Linked DNA regions of Homo sapiens: all the other regions are linked to region 2. The links are contacts of gene promoters, found by promoter capture Hi-C in blood cells and fetal thymus (Javierre and others, 2016). All regions are on one chromosome and are shown on one strand. The core of a region is centred on a gene start or on the middle of the fragment in contact, and the rest is flanking DNA. Distances in the headings are between cores, read along the strand shown.

The links. Contacts are between HindIII fragments. The CHiCAGO score rates a contact against its expected background, and 5 or more counts as called.
Region 1: a contact is called between a fragment that was not itself captured here and the fragment with the promoter of RIPPLY2 in region 2, in 1 of 17 cell types (neutrophils). The highest score is 5.5, in neutrophils.
Region 3: a contact is called between a fragment that was not itself captured here and the fragment with the promoter of RIPPLY2 in region 2, in 1 of 17 cell types (neutrophils). The highest score is 6.6, in neutrophils.

Annotation. Positions count from the first base shown.
Region 1 is chr6:83,973,315-83,977,141 of GRCh38, forward strand. No RefSeq gene overlaps it. Among named protein-coding and RNA genes, the nearest start is that of LINC02857, 46 kb to the right of the region's middle. RefSeq lists a cis regulatory region at 1,137-1,742 and enhancers at 3,133-3,827, 3,636-3,827. The HindIII fragment of the contact is 8,700 bases long and covers 1-3,827 here.
Region 2 is chr6:83,850,963-83,855,220 of GRCh38, forward strand. RIPPLY2 (ripply transcriptional repressor 2) reads left to right here and starts at 2,398. Exons shown (of 4, transcript NM_001009994.3): 1 at 2,398-2,549; 2 at 2,733-2,811; 3 at 3,135-3,199. The coding sequence starts at 2,455. RIPPLY2-CYB5R4 (RIPPLY2-CYB5R4 readthrough) reads left to right here and starts at 2,398. Exons shown (of 18, transcript NR_174604.1): 1 at 2,398-2,549; 2 at 2,733-2,811; 3 at 3,135-3,199. The HindIII fragment of the contact is 2,033 bases long and covers 1,139-3,171 here.
Region 3 is chr6:83,953,185-83,957,042 of GRCh38, forward strand. RIPPLY2-CYB5R4 (RIPPLY2-CYB5R4 readthrough) reads left to right here. Exons shown (of 18, transcript NR_174604.1): 17 at 2,114-2,278. It overlaps CYB5R4 (cytochrome b5 reductase 4), which reads left to right. Exons shown (of 16, transcript NM_016230.4): 15 at 2,114-2,278. Among named protein-coding and RNA genes, the nearest start is that of LINC02857, 66 kb to the right of the region's middle. The HindIII fragment of the contact is 1,886 bases long and covers 713-2,598 here.

The sequences.
Region 1 (3,827 bases), core at 441-2,940, 120 kb after region 2:
GTGTATCCTGGGTCATAAGTGAAAGTTTTTGATTTCATAAAGTCAAGAGCCCAGAATGTTATGTTAGAAGAAAACATTTCCTTTTAGAACTTTAAGATAAAGCGTTTTTAGCAGCAGGCCACAACATCAGTTAGAACCTAAGGAAAAAAGGTTACAGGAGCTGATGAAAGAGTTGAAGAAGAAAGTTATTATCTCAGGCCTTCTCAAAGGGTAAACAAAGCTAAACACAGTGAGATGCAATAAAAGAACTTTTGGGTTTAAAAATTTAAAATCTCTTGTAATTTTATTAAAAATAAATCAGTACCTTTTAATATCTTTTATTAAGAGTAAATCAATTTCCTTTTAATTATAGCCAACTTGATCACATAGGTTTTTTTCATAAATTCACTTTTTACAAACCCTATTACAATTTACACAAACCATTTATGACATGTTTGGACTTCCTGTTTTATCCTAAACATTCTTTTTTCTTAAATAACCAGGCATTTTATTTTAGGGCAAAAAATGTATAATACAAAATTGTTTCTCATATAAAATTATATTCCTTTTAATACCTCTTTATATTTACAACTTTCTTGTCATCTCTCTTACTTAATGGTTCCTTTACCTTGTTTTATAAATAACCTTTAAATAACCTTTGAAGTAGACAAAATTTTTTTTTTAATAAGGACCCATTATTTTTTAGAAAAATGTTTTCCTGTAATTTTTTTAAAATATTGGAAAGACCCATTTAATTAATATTTATTATTAATTTAACTTTAGATTCTAAATTATATGACAAGTTTTTATAAGCATTTATTCCATTATACTTACCTAATTAATTTCTTAATATTTTACCTAGATTCGTTATGAAAACTATGATAATCATTTAAAGTTATTTCCCTATTATCCATTTTTATAGCCTATGGATTTCAGGTGTTTATCTAAGTAAGAACCTTAAGGTTAAATAAATAGGTGGTGGGGGAGTTGCCAATAATTCAAGATTTAGTTGTTTTAGTTAAACCAATTGAAACCAGCCTTGTTGTCTGGGGTGTCACCGAAAGTTCTTGGTCTCATGGCTGAGGAAATCAAGGACCTGGACACTCCAAAGGTGAAGTTAGAGCAGAATTTTAATAAGCAAAAGGAAGAAAGCTCTCTGGCACCAAGAGGGGTCCTAGAAAAATGGGTTGCCATTTTACAGTGAAATGCAAAGGTTTTTATAGACAAACTGGTGGGGAGGTGTGTTTCATTTATATACTGCACAAAAAAAATCAGGAGTAGGTGTTTCATTTGCATATGGCACAAATTTCTGACAGTCTTCACCCCAACCTTTCTAGTGCACATGTGGGCTCCTTAGTCTGAGTTACTCCATCTTGCTTATCTCTTCCTACTGCGTATGTGTGGAAAAAAAAAAAAGAGGAGAGGGTCAGAACCCTCTGTGGTGGATGTGCCTGGTCCAGGGTCGCTCTTCTTATCAGTGCTGCTGCAGGCACTTCCCCTGTGCAAGCCTCCTTGTCTGAGCATTTCCAAGAAGGGAGAGGAATGTGCTCTACTTGGGCTCAATATATATCAGCAAAACTTGTTGATTACATACGAGGTCCCATTCTGTGTTAGAACTTGCCTTCCTTATCTGTGTTTGCAGCCTGATCTTTCAGGCTGCTCTTTGCTAAAAGAGAAATGACTTGTTGGGCTGCTTTTTGTTAGAAGAGAAGCTGCTTTTTGTTGGAAGGGAATTCTACTGAGGACTCTAGCCCTAACTATCTGCCTAGTTGATTTCTTTCTCTCTTCTCTCTCACAATAATATTAAATTTCTTATTTATCAAAAAATTATATAAGATAAAATTCTCTTTGGGGCTACATTTACAGCTTTATAACTCATGCTAAATCTTGATACCTCATAATATTTAGCAGAGATAAATAGAAAACTTCCTAGCTAATAAATCTAAACAATAATGTAGGCTGACAATTCTGAAGACATTTCTAATTTTATTTTACCAATAACTTTAAAGCCAGCTTGTTTATTTGCAATTTACTTATGTCACGTGAACTTGCAAAGCATTTTGGCTCATTTACTTAATTCCTGAGTAGTCCTTTATTTCTAATCCAATTTGGTACCTTGTGGCCACAACACGTAACAAAACACATGTATGTACACCTTAACTCACCTAAGCATGCATACACATATGTACAGATAAACACATCTAAGCACATACACATACTCGTACAAATAAAGATCCTATAGCTTTTACTTCAGAACTCTACTCATGAGATATTAATACAAACTTACCAGTTTACCACAAATGGTTGGATGCAAATAGTGTTTTTTTTCTCAACACCAGTAGAAAGGTCCTTCAAATTGGAAAAAAAAAGTACATTTTCTTAAGCAAAAATCACATCCTCATTGTTTTTTTTGCAAACTTCACCAAAACCGCATCTTATTCTCCTACTATTCTAACTCTCAGTAACCCTAATTCCCAGAGAAAACATAGGATTACTTAATTTAACATAACATGACCTTAAGATTTTAAATTGCTGGAGAAAATTTTGAGACTAAATTAACCAAATTAATCTTACCAAAGATGACTAACGTCATGTGAACTGAAAAGCCTCTGAGCTAGCTTCTATTAGTCTGACAAATGTTTACTTTTCTTTAAGCCAACTAATTAGATGTCTTTCATATAATTGGTACTGAAATATTTTCACATGACACATATGAACATACAGACATAATAGACTCAGAGGCAGATCTTATAGATTTAAAATTTTTCATTTGCTAGTATTCAAAAATTCTCTCTTCCCTACTTTAGACTATGAACCTCTTCATTATCTGTTCCATGTCCTAAATCATTGTTAACTAGGTAATTCTAAATTTGCATCTCCAAAGATATGAATCACGTGAAACAAGGTAGAAAATGTACAACTCAAAGGCACAGGATTAGATCTAAACAAAGACAAGTTTTGTTATGTAAACTTTAAGCTATTGTCTTACCCCTAGTTAAAGTTCCATTAGGAACTTTAGGTGCAGAGACAGATATGCCCTTACAAAATGTAAATTTCCTTTAAAGGTGGTATTTTCAACTTAGCTGCTTAATTAGATTACTGGCTTTAGGGTGGAGGCCTTTAAGGAATGGGGCGAAGAAAGTATACAGGATTTTCTTATCTAAACATTAAAAACAAAGAGTAGTCGTCCCCTATAGTAATGACCATTTCCTGTAAACTGCCCTCAACCACCCCTAACATTGTAGCTCTCATGCAGCATTACACACGCCAAAGGCAAATACTCTCACAGTACAAGGTGATCTCTGGTACTCCCAAAAGCCAAATAAATCAGGTAATGCGATACAAGAAAGCAGAGCTTTAGACCTGAGAAGAATCAGCACATGACTGTTGAAACTCCACAGCAAATCAGAACAGCTCAAAAAGGGGTGAGTGGCACCTTAATTCTGAGTTCTTTAAGGGGTCTGAGTCATTAGAAGCCTTCTCTATTTTCTTTTCACTTGGTACTGAAGATGGCAAAAGGAGAAGGAGATGTTAGATATGAGTTCTAAATTTCTTTTCAAAGAATCAATATGTCAGTATGTTCAATTCTTTGCCTTCTACTTTTAAACTTAACTTCCTCATAAAGCAATCTTTGTCGATTACCTGCTCAACCCTGACTGATTTCAATCACCTGTTCCACCCCGACTCACTCCGTTTACCTCCTCCACCCTGACTCATTCCGATGACCTGCTACCTGCTCCACCCTGACTCATTATCCACCCTGCATAACCATTTTTCCCGCCAAACCACTCACCCCCACCCCCTCACTCTCTTTAAATTAGCCAGTTGGAATTAGTTTATCCTGTGCA
Region 2 (4,258 bases), core at 1,148-3,647:
TTCTATCTCTACAGCATCTCTGCTCCAGAGATATCCAGTCCCTTTTCTTCTCACTCCTGAACAACCCAGACAATACCATTCTTTGATTAATCCTTCCAAAAATATCAACTTAGATTTGATTTACTCTAAGAAGGCTTTCCTGGTTATCCCAAACAGACTTCTTAAGTTCCTCCCACCTATCTGCCTAAAATGCGCTTTTACTATTGAATGTGTCACTTTAAATTTTTTTTTTTTTTTTTTTTTTTGCTTATGTGTTTATTGTAGTGGTCAGAGTTTGGAATAATTGTAACCTTCTCAAGGATAGGAGGAATACCTTACTGTCCTTATCTGGAAAGCACAGTAGTTAGCACATTACAGCCACCTCAAAAAGATTTTTTTTTATTTTTTATTTTCATTTTAAGTTCTGTGGTACATGTGCAGGATGTGCAGGTTTGTTACATAGGTAAACATGTGCCATGGTGGTTTGCTGCACCTATCAACCTATCACCTAGGTATTAAGCCTAGCATGCATTAGCTATTTTTCCTAATCCTCTCTCTCCTCCCACCCCACCCACTGACATGCCCAGTGTGTGTTTTTCCCCTCCCTGTGTCCAGATGTTCTCATTATTCAGCTCCCACTTATAAGTGAGAACATGCAGTGTTTGGTTTTATGTTCCTGCGTTAGTTTGCTGAGGATAACGGCTTCCAGCTCCATCCACGTCCTTGGAAAGGACATGATCTTGTTCCTTTTTATGGCTGCATAGTATTTCGTGTTGTGTATGTACCACATTTTCTTTATCCAGTCTATTACTGATGGGCATTTGAGTTGAATCCATATCTTTGCTATCGCAAATAGTGCTGCAATGAACATACGCATACAAACATTATGCATGCCATCTTTGTAAAATAACGATTGATATTCCTTTGCATATATCCCTAGTAATGGGATTGCTAGGTCAAATGGTACTTCTGGTTCTAGGTCTTTGAGGAATCACCACACCATCTTCCACAATGATTTAACTAGTTTACATTATGGAACTGAAATAATAAGCCATTTTATCAGAAAGGTTAACATCTGTTAAGGCCTTATATTTTTTTACGTAGCTTAAAATCTGTTGAAGGCTTACTATATGCCAGGCACTGCAAAACGCATTTTATAAGCTTTATTTTATTTAGCCTAACAATAACTGTAGGGGATGCAGACATGCATTAGGTATCTATCCTTACTGATTTTCTTATCAGAAGCAACCCAAATCTCACCTTCCTGGCAGGTAGATCATTATAGGCTCTTAGCTACTATTAATAATTAAATTATTTTCCTATGCAGTAGCTGAATGAATAGCAGAGACAACTATAGTTTACAATCAAGATTTTTGTCTAAACTTTTAAGAGAAAGTCCAGTTTTATTATTTAAAACATTTTGAAAAAAATTATAACATTTATATATCATCTTTTCCTCGATGCATAACACTTTTTACAAAGTTTAGTGGTAGATAAGTGAGGGGTAACTCAAATCAGAGAAACAGGGGTGCAGACGTTTGATTAACTTGTCTCATATCATAACTTTTCAAGATTTCATTATCATTCCACAACACTGCCCTCAAAAAAGAATTTTGTAATTACCATTGAGTGACAAAATACCAAGTAGTGACAGAGGTGTATAGACGAACTCAAAAGTTATTGTAGGAGGACACTGATAAAATGTTGGGGAAAATCACAAAAGACACGAGAAGATAATTTAGAGCTCTATGCCCAAATCACATGACTCCAGTCTCTGGCTCTCTTAGCCAGAACAGCGAATCTTTTACAATTTACCTCTTGTTGCCAATAATTTTCTATTATCTTCAAATAATAATAGGCTGGAGTATGAACCTAGTTTATCAATACTTTTTTAAAAAACCGACATTCCTCTCTTAAGGAGTCCATGCATTCTCCCCATTTTTTAGAAAATTGTTCCATGAAGAGGAATTAAGTTTATTCCTTTGAATTCTAGTCTGCATCCCAGCTTTTAGAACACGGGATGCAGAACCAGTTGATTTGCCACAGGCCAAGTCCTGAGTCTCCAGCGAATCAAGCAATTAACCAGTCACTTGGCCTTTTTGCAGAAATCCACAAAACGTGTAGACTCGCTTAATTCCATCTCCTCCTGGCCTCTTCACACGGAAATTGGCTGCTCGGGCGAATGTTGTTTTTCTCCGCAGCCATGTGTCGAAGGGCGATTAACATTCGCTCGACAAAACCCTGTCCCGGGCCATTTGGGAGTTGCACGCGTTCACACCCGGGGCTCAGCCCGGTGCGCCTTCACGCGCAGCCTTTTTGTTTATGCGGCTAGCAGGGAGAGGGGCGGAGAGGCAGCGAACCTCTCAATGTGCAGCAGGCCGCGAGGGCTATATAAAGCTCGGGTCTCGGACCTACTGGAACTGGTCAAGATTGCCCGCGAGCTGGCAGCGGCCTTCCGCCCAGCTCTGCGGCGTCATGGAGAACGCGGGAGGCGCAGAGGGTACAGAGAGTGGAGCTGCGGCGTGCGCGGCCACCGACGGCCCTACGCGGCGCGCGGGCGCGGACTCCGGGTAGGCTTCCCCGCGCTGCTCTGCGCCTCCCAGCTTCCCCCGTCTCTCCCTCCTGCGCCTCCCCAGCTCCTCCCCTCCAACTCTCCATCCCCCACTGCCCGGTGCCAGCGCTCGGCTTCGGTGGATTCTCCCGGGTCTGGGCTCACGTCTCCTCTGCGCGCCTTGTGCTCCCCTATCCCGCAGATACGCAGGCTTCTGGAGACCCTGGGTGGACGCCGGAGGCAAGAAAGAAGAGGAGACGCCGAACCACGCCGCGGAGGCGGTGAGTGAGCCACGCGTCTCAGGCCGCGCCTCCCACGGGTGCAGAAGATCGACCAGGGCTCTCGGGACGCAGGGCCTGAGAGAGACATGCGAGACACCGGGTCCTGCCTCTCGCTTAACATCCCGCCTGCCGGTGGCCATAAAGGTGCCGACGCGGCGGATGTGTCCTCTGGAGCGATGGGCCACAGGCACCCAGCCGGGAGCGAGGCTGCTGAGAGCCCTGGGGTTACATTCCCAGCGGGCACGAGGAACACTGGGTCGTGCACGTTTCCACTTTCTAGAAGGAGGTGGGTGATAACTGGATTCACTTCCTTTCCTCTCCAGATGCCCGATGGCCCTGGAATGACCGCAGCCTCAGGAAAGCTTTACCAATTCAGGCACCCAGTCAGGTGAGTGACAGGCCTCGCCGAAGGTCTCCCGCTCCTCCAGCCCCAGGGAGGAGCCAGGGGCATCGCGCAGCCCAGCTCCGCAGCTGGTCCTGCAGTCTCTCTCTCTCTCTCTGAAAATCTGGCTTCAAGGTTACTTATCTTCTCACTCATCAAATTGAAAAAGGTAGGGGCTCACGGTCCCACGTAAAGGGACTGTTGATGAATACATACTCAGTGAACTTGATGAATATATTACGAAGAGGGAAAGGGGATGATATGGTAAGAGAGCGGTGACATCTTGTGCTGGCAAAACAGTTTTTATTTTTAAATCCTAAAGGGTTCGAATGAAATTGACTTCGCATCAGGCAGAGTGTGTATGCTGCTTTTGTCTTGCAATCTGGAAGGAAGAATGGGATTAACAGTTACAGTCTTACAAGTTTGCCGAGTAGGAAAAAATAGAAATGTAATGAAAATCCTAAAGATTATTGAGAATGGTTATAGAAAGGGTCAAAAGTTTATTTAACTTGCGGAGCTAGTTTACTGTTCCTAGTCACAGGAAGTCAGCCTTTATCTAAGATTCTGTGTCACTTTTATTCAGGTGAAATGTTAAGAATTCTGCAGTTTTCCTGCCTCCGAGAGCTGTTAAATGAAGAGCTGGATGATGTTTGTAAAGTGCCCCTGGTCATAAATAACACATAGAAGTCATTACATCTAATTTCCTACCGTGTGCTAGCACTGGTGAAGGACACAGGAAAAAGTAGTCACAGCACATGGCAAGTGTTGTAATGGAATTTAGTTTGGTTAGTTTTACAAGTATGGGCAGGGCACGAAGTGCCTAAATCTGTCAGTGGTAGGGGGAAGGGTCAGGGAAGTGTATATTATAAGTTGTGGTTACCTGGCTGAGTCTTGGAAAAGTTAGTCAGATGAATGGGAAGTGGGAGCAAAAGAAATAGCATTGGAAAAGAGAAGCAGGATCATGAAACGGTGTGGCTCCTTGCGGGAACTCCAAGGAGTTTAGGTGTGTGAAGTTGTGGTCATTTTAGCAGGGTAATCAGAGGCCAAATCTTGCACACTCTTGTA
Region 3 (3,858 bases), core at 406-2,905, 100 kb after region 2:
ATATATAAGGCTTTCTGAAATTCTACGGAAATATATTTAACTTTTTTTAACCCAGTATGTCACAGACTTATTTGATAGTTAGCCTGCTTTCATGGAATAACTACTAACATCTGGAGGCATACTAGTGTTTCATTAGATTCATTTTAAGAAATGTTTCCATATAATTATGGAAACATATATAATTATATATATTTTATCTAATTTTGATTCCTAGTTTTGTGAGATTTTTTTCCTTTGAGCACATAGCAATTTTTACTACAGTTGCAGGCATTTTCTTTAGCTAGAAAAAAAACAAAAAACAAAAAAAACAAAAGCAGGAAAAGCTGGGGCCCCAAGTACTCTGAAATACCAATCTGTGGGCAGTGAGGAATCACTGAAGCTTTTAAGCAAAAAAGTTGTAAAGTTGTATCAGAGTTTTTAGGGGAACTAATATGGCAATGGTATATCAAATAGATTAAGGGCTAAGGCTGTTAATGTAATATTTTAGATGAGATATAAGAACCTGATCTGGAGTTGTGACAGTAAAAATGGGAAGGTAAGGGACTTTGTGTGAGAAAATGAAGGAGGCAAGTTGCTGAAGCTGATTGGCTAGAGGAGGAGGGAATAAGTCGTTGGATGACTGCTAATGATTTAGACTAAATGAATACATTTGTATTTCAAGACTTGTCATCTCAGATCACTATCAGCCTACTTTAAAATAAAATTTTTGACAAGCTTACTTAGATTGACGTTTGAGATCACATAGGCACTCATCAGAAGCAGGTCTGTTCTCTTCCTCTTTCATATTACTTTGTATTTTATGGGTTATCTGAATTTATTTTCAGGTAACCTTTTCAAGGGTCCCAACCCCTTCTGGCACTTTTGAAATTATAAAAGAATTTCAGGATGTTTACTGTGTGCCCCCCACATGTCTCCAGCATCTCAAAGCTGTAATTTTTTAGACAGTAAGTTAACCTTCATTCAGAAAACCCAGGAGAGAGTATTCCACAGGAATTGTCTATATTTTGATATAAAAAATCTTTCATTAAAGAATTATTGAGTCTTAACTTGGGAATGCTCCTGTTCCAGTTTAAGCTCTTTTCTCAGCGTATGAAAAGGAGATAAGCAGGATAACAGCCTCTTTAGAATATCCTTAAATTGCAGCCAGAGATTAAAATGCATGTGTCACTGGTAATTGCTATTTACTGTGATTTATACCAGCATATTATTATTGTTTATTTTGGGTTCAGGGGGTACATGTGCAGGTTTGCTTGAAGGGTATATTGCGTGATGCTGAAATTTGGATTTCTATTGATCTTGTCACCTAGACAATGAACATAGTACACACTAGGAGGGTTTTCAGCCCTTGCCCCTTTCCCTACACCTCCCTCCTTTTGGAGCCCCCAGTGTCTATTGTTCTCATCTTTATGTTCTTATGTACACAGGGTTTAGCTCCACTCATAAGTGAGAACATGCAATATTTGTTCTTTTTTTTCAATACTAGTAGATTATTAATAGAAATGTAGCGTTCTCTGAGATCCCTTGGGATCTTTATTTCATTTATATATTTATTTTTAATTAATTTCTTTTTTAAGAGACAGGTTCTTGCTCTGTTGCCTAGGCTGGTGCAATCATATCTCACTGGATCAAACGATCCTCCTGCCTCAGCTTCCCAAATAGCTAGGACCACAGGCACATGCCACCACACCTGGCTAAGTTTAAACAGTTTTTTTTGTTGTTGTTGTTTTTGGGTTTTTTTTTTTGTAGAAACTAGGTCTCACTGTGTTGCCCAGGCTGGTCTCAAACTCCTGTTCTCAAACAATCCTCCCACCTTGGCCTCCCAAGATGCTAGGGTTACAGGTGTGAGCTACCATGCTTGGATAATTAGTTCAATTTAAAAAAAAATGCCAAATTACATTCCTTATCTATAGGAAAAGCTAATCCTTAGTAAATATAGATTTACCTATACGTTTTTGTTAAATCTTACAATTTTTTTCAGTGTTTTTCTAGCAAGTAAGTGTATCTTTATATATTAAATTGTTCCTTTAGGGGAGAAATATATTCTTGAACTTGAAACATGTTAATAATATGTTTAAAATAATAAACTTTAAAAAGCTGTTTTTCTTTTCCCTAGACTGGATGTTGAATTTGTTCTCTCAGCACCTATTTCTGAATGGAATGGCAAACAGGGACATATTTCACCAGCTCTTCTTTCTGAATTTTTGAAAAGAAATTTGGACAAATCCAAAGTTCTCGTCTGCATTTGTGGACCAGTGCCATTTACAGAACAAGGAGTAAGGTGAGTAACAGTGTAGTAGGAAACAGACTGCCCAACACTGAAGTGAAGATCTTTCATAACAAGCATCTCTCAGTTCTTCCTGTTTATATGAAACTGCACTTTAATAATCTTACAGTTTTAGAAAATAACAAAGTCTTTAAATCTTCGTATAGTTTGAGTTGGAGGCCAGGATTATGCATATTGTTAGATAAAACATAAAAGTAAGTTACAGCCAGCAGTCAGTGTTCTCTGCTCGTGATGGCTGCCAATATTGTTACACTCACAAGATTGGTGCCACAATTCTTATTTGGGACATTAGGCCCAACCTCTTCTTCCATCAAAGCTTCATAATATATAGTAATTAATAAGGAATGTTCATCTCATTGTAGCTTTTGATCTTCATTCTCTGTAACTGAGTGAAAGTAAATAATATATGTGATCAAAAGCCAAGCAGCAAGACAAAAAGGGAAGACTAGAACACAAATAAGGCAAGACTAATAGTTGAAGCATGGATCATGAAAAATCAGTGGTAGTGGCGATCCTGTTTGAAATTCATCTTGATGTGATTTAGCTTTAAAATGGCACTTTAAAATATTTGGTTAAATATAGCCCCTATTGGATTTCTAGATAATTTTAAAATATGGCTGTTCTAAGTGCCCTATTCTTATTTAGTAGGTGACTAACCTAACATTTCTAGATGTTGATGAAAAAAGTCAAACTCTGTAAAATCTTTGAAGAGATTTATTCTGAGCCAAATATAGTGACCGTGGCCTGTGACACAGCCCTCAGGAGGTCCTGAGAACATGTGCCCAAGGTGGTCGGGGCATAGCTTGGTTTGATACATTTTAGGGAGGCATGAGACATCAATCAAATACATTTAAGAAATACATTAGTTTGGTCCAGAAAGGCAGGACAACTCAAAGCTGGATTGGGGGGGGCACGGGTTTCCAGGCTCTAGGTAAGTTTAAACATTTAAACATTTTCTGGTTGACAATTGGTTGAGTTTGTCTAAAGACCTGAGATCCACAGAAAGGGAATGTTCAGGTTAAGATAAAAGATTGTGGAGACCAAGGTTCTTTTGAAGTCTTACAGTGGCTGCCCTTAGAGATAATAGATGACAATGTTTCCTGTTCAGACCTTTAAAAGGTACTAGACTCTTAGTTAACCTCTTCAGGATTGGACTGGCCTGGAAGAAGAAGATCTAGCTATGTTAATAGGATTCTTTACAGATGCAAATTTTCCCCCACAAAGGACAGATTTGCAGGGCCATTTCAAGACATGGCAAAGAAACATGTTTTGGGGTAAAACATTTTTATTTTCTTCCTTGTCTCGTAATGTTATGCCAGAGTCAGGTTGGAAAGTAAGTCACGATATATGGGGTTAAATAAAACCCATCTGATGAGAATTTATGGTTTGTAGGGCATGACTTCCCAGACCCCTTAGATAGGAATTTGGGCAAGATAAAAAAAAAAAAAAAATCAGAGTTTAGTCCTCATAGATAATCTTATATCTTGCTTTTTTATTTAAAATTTTAATTGTAGAAAAGATTGACCCCCCAATCAATAAAAACATTAAAAACTTTTTTCTTGTCATATTTAAAA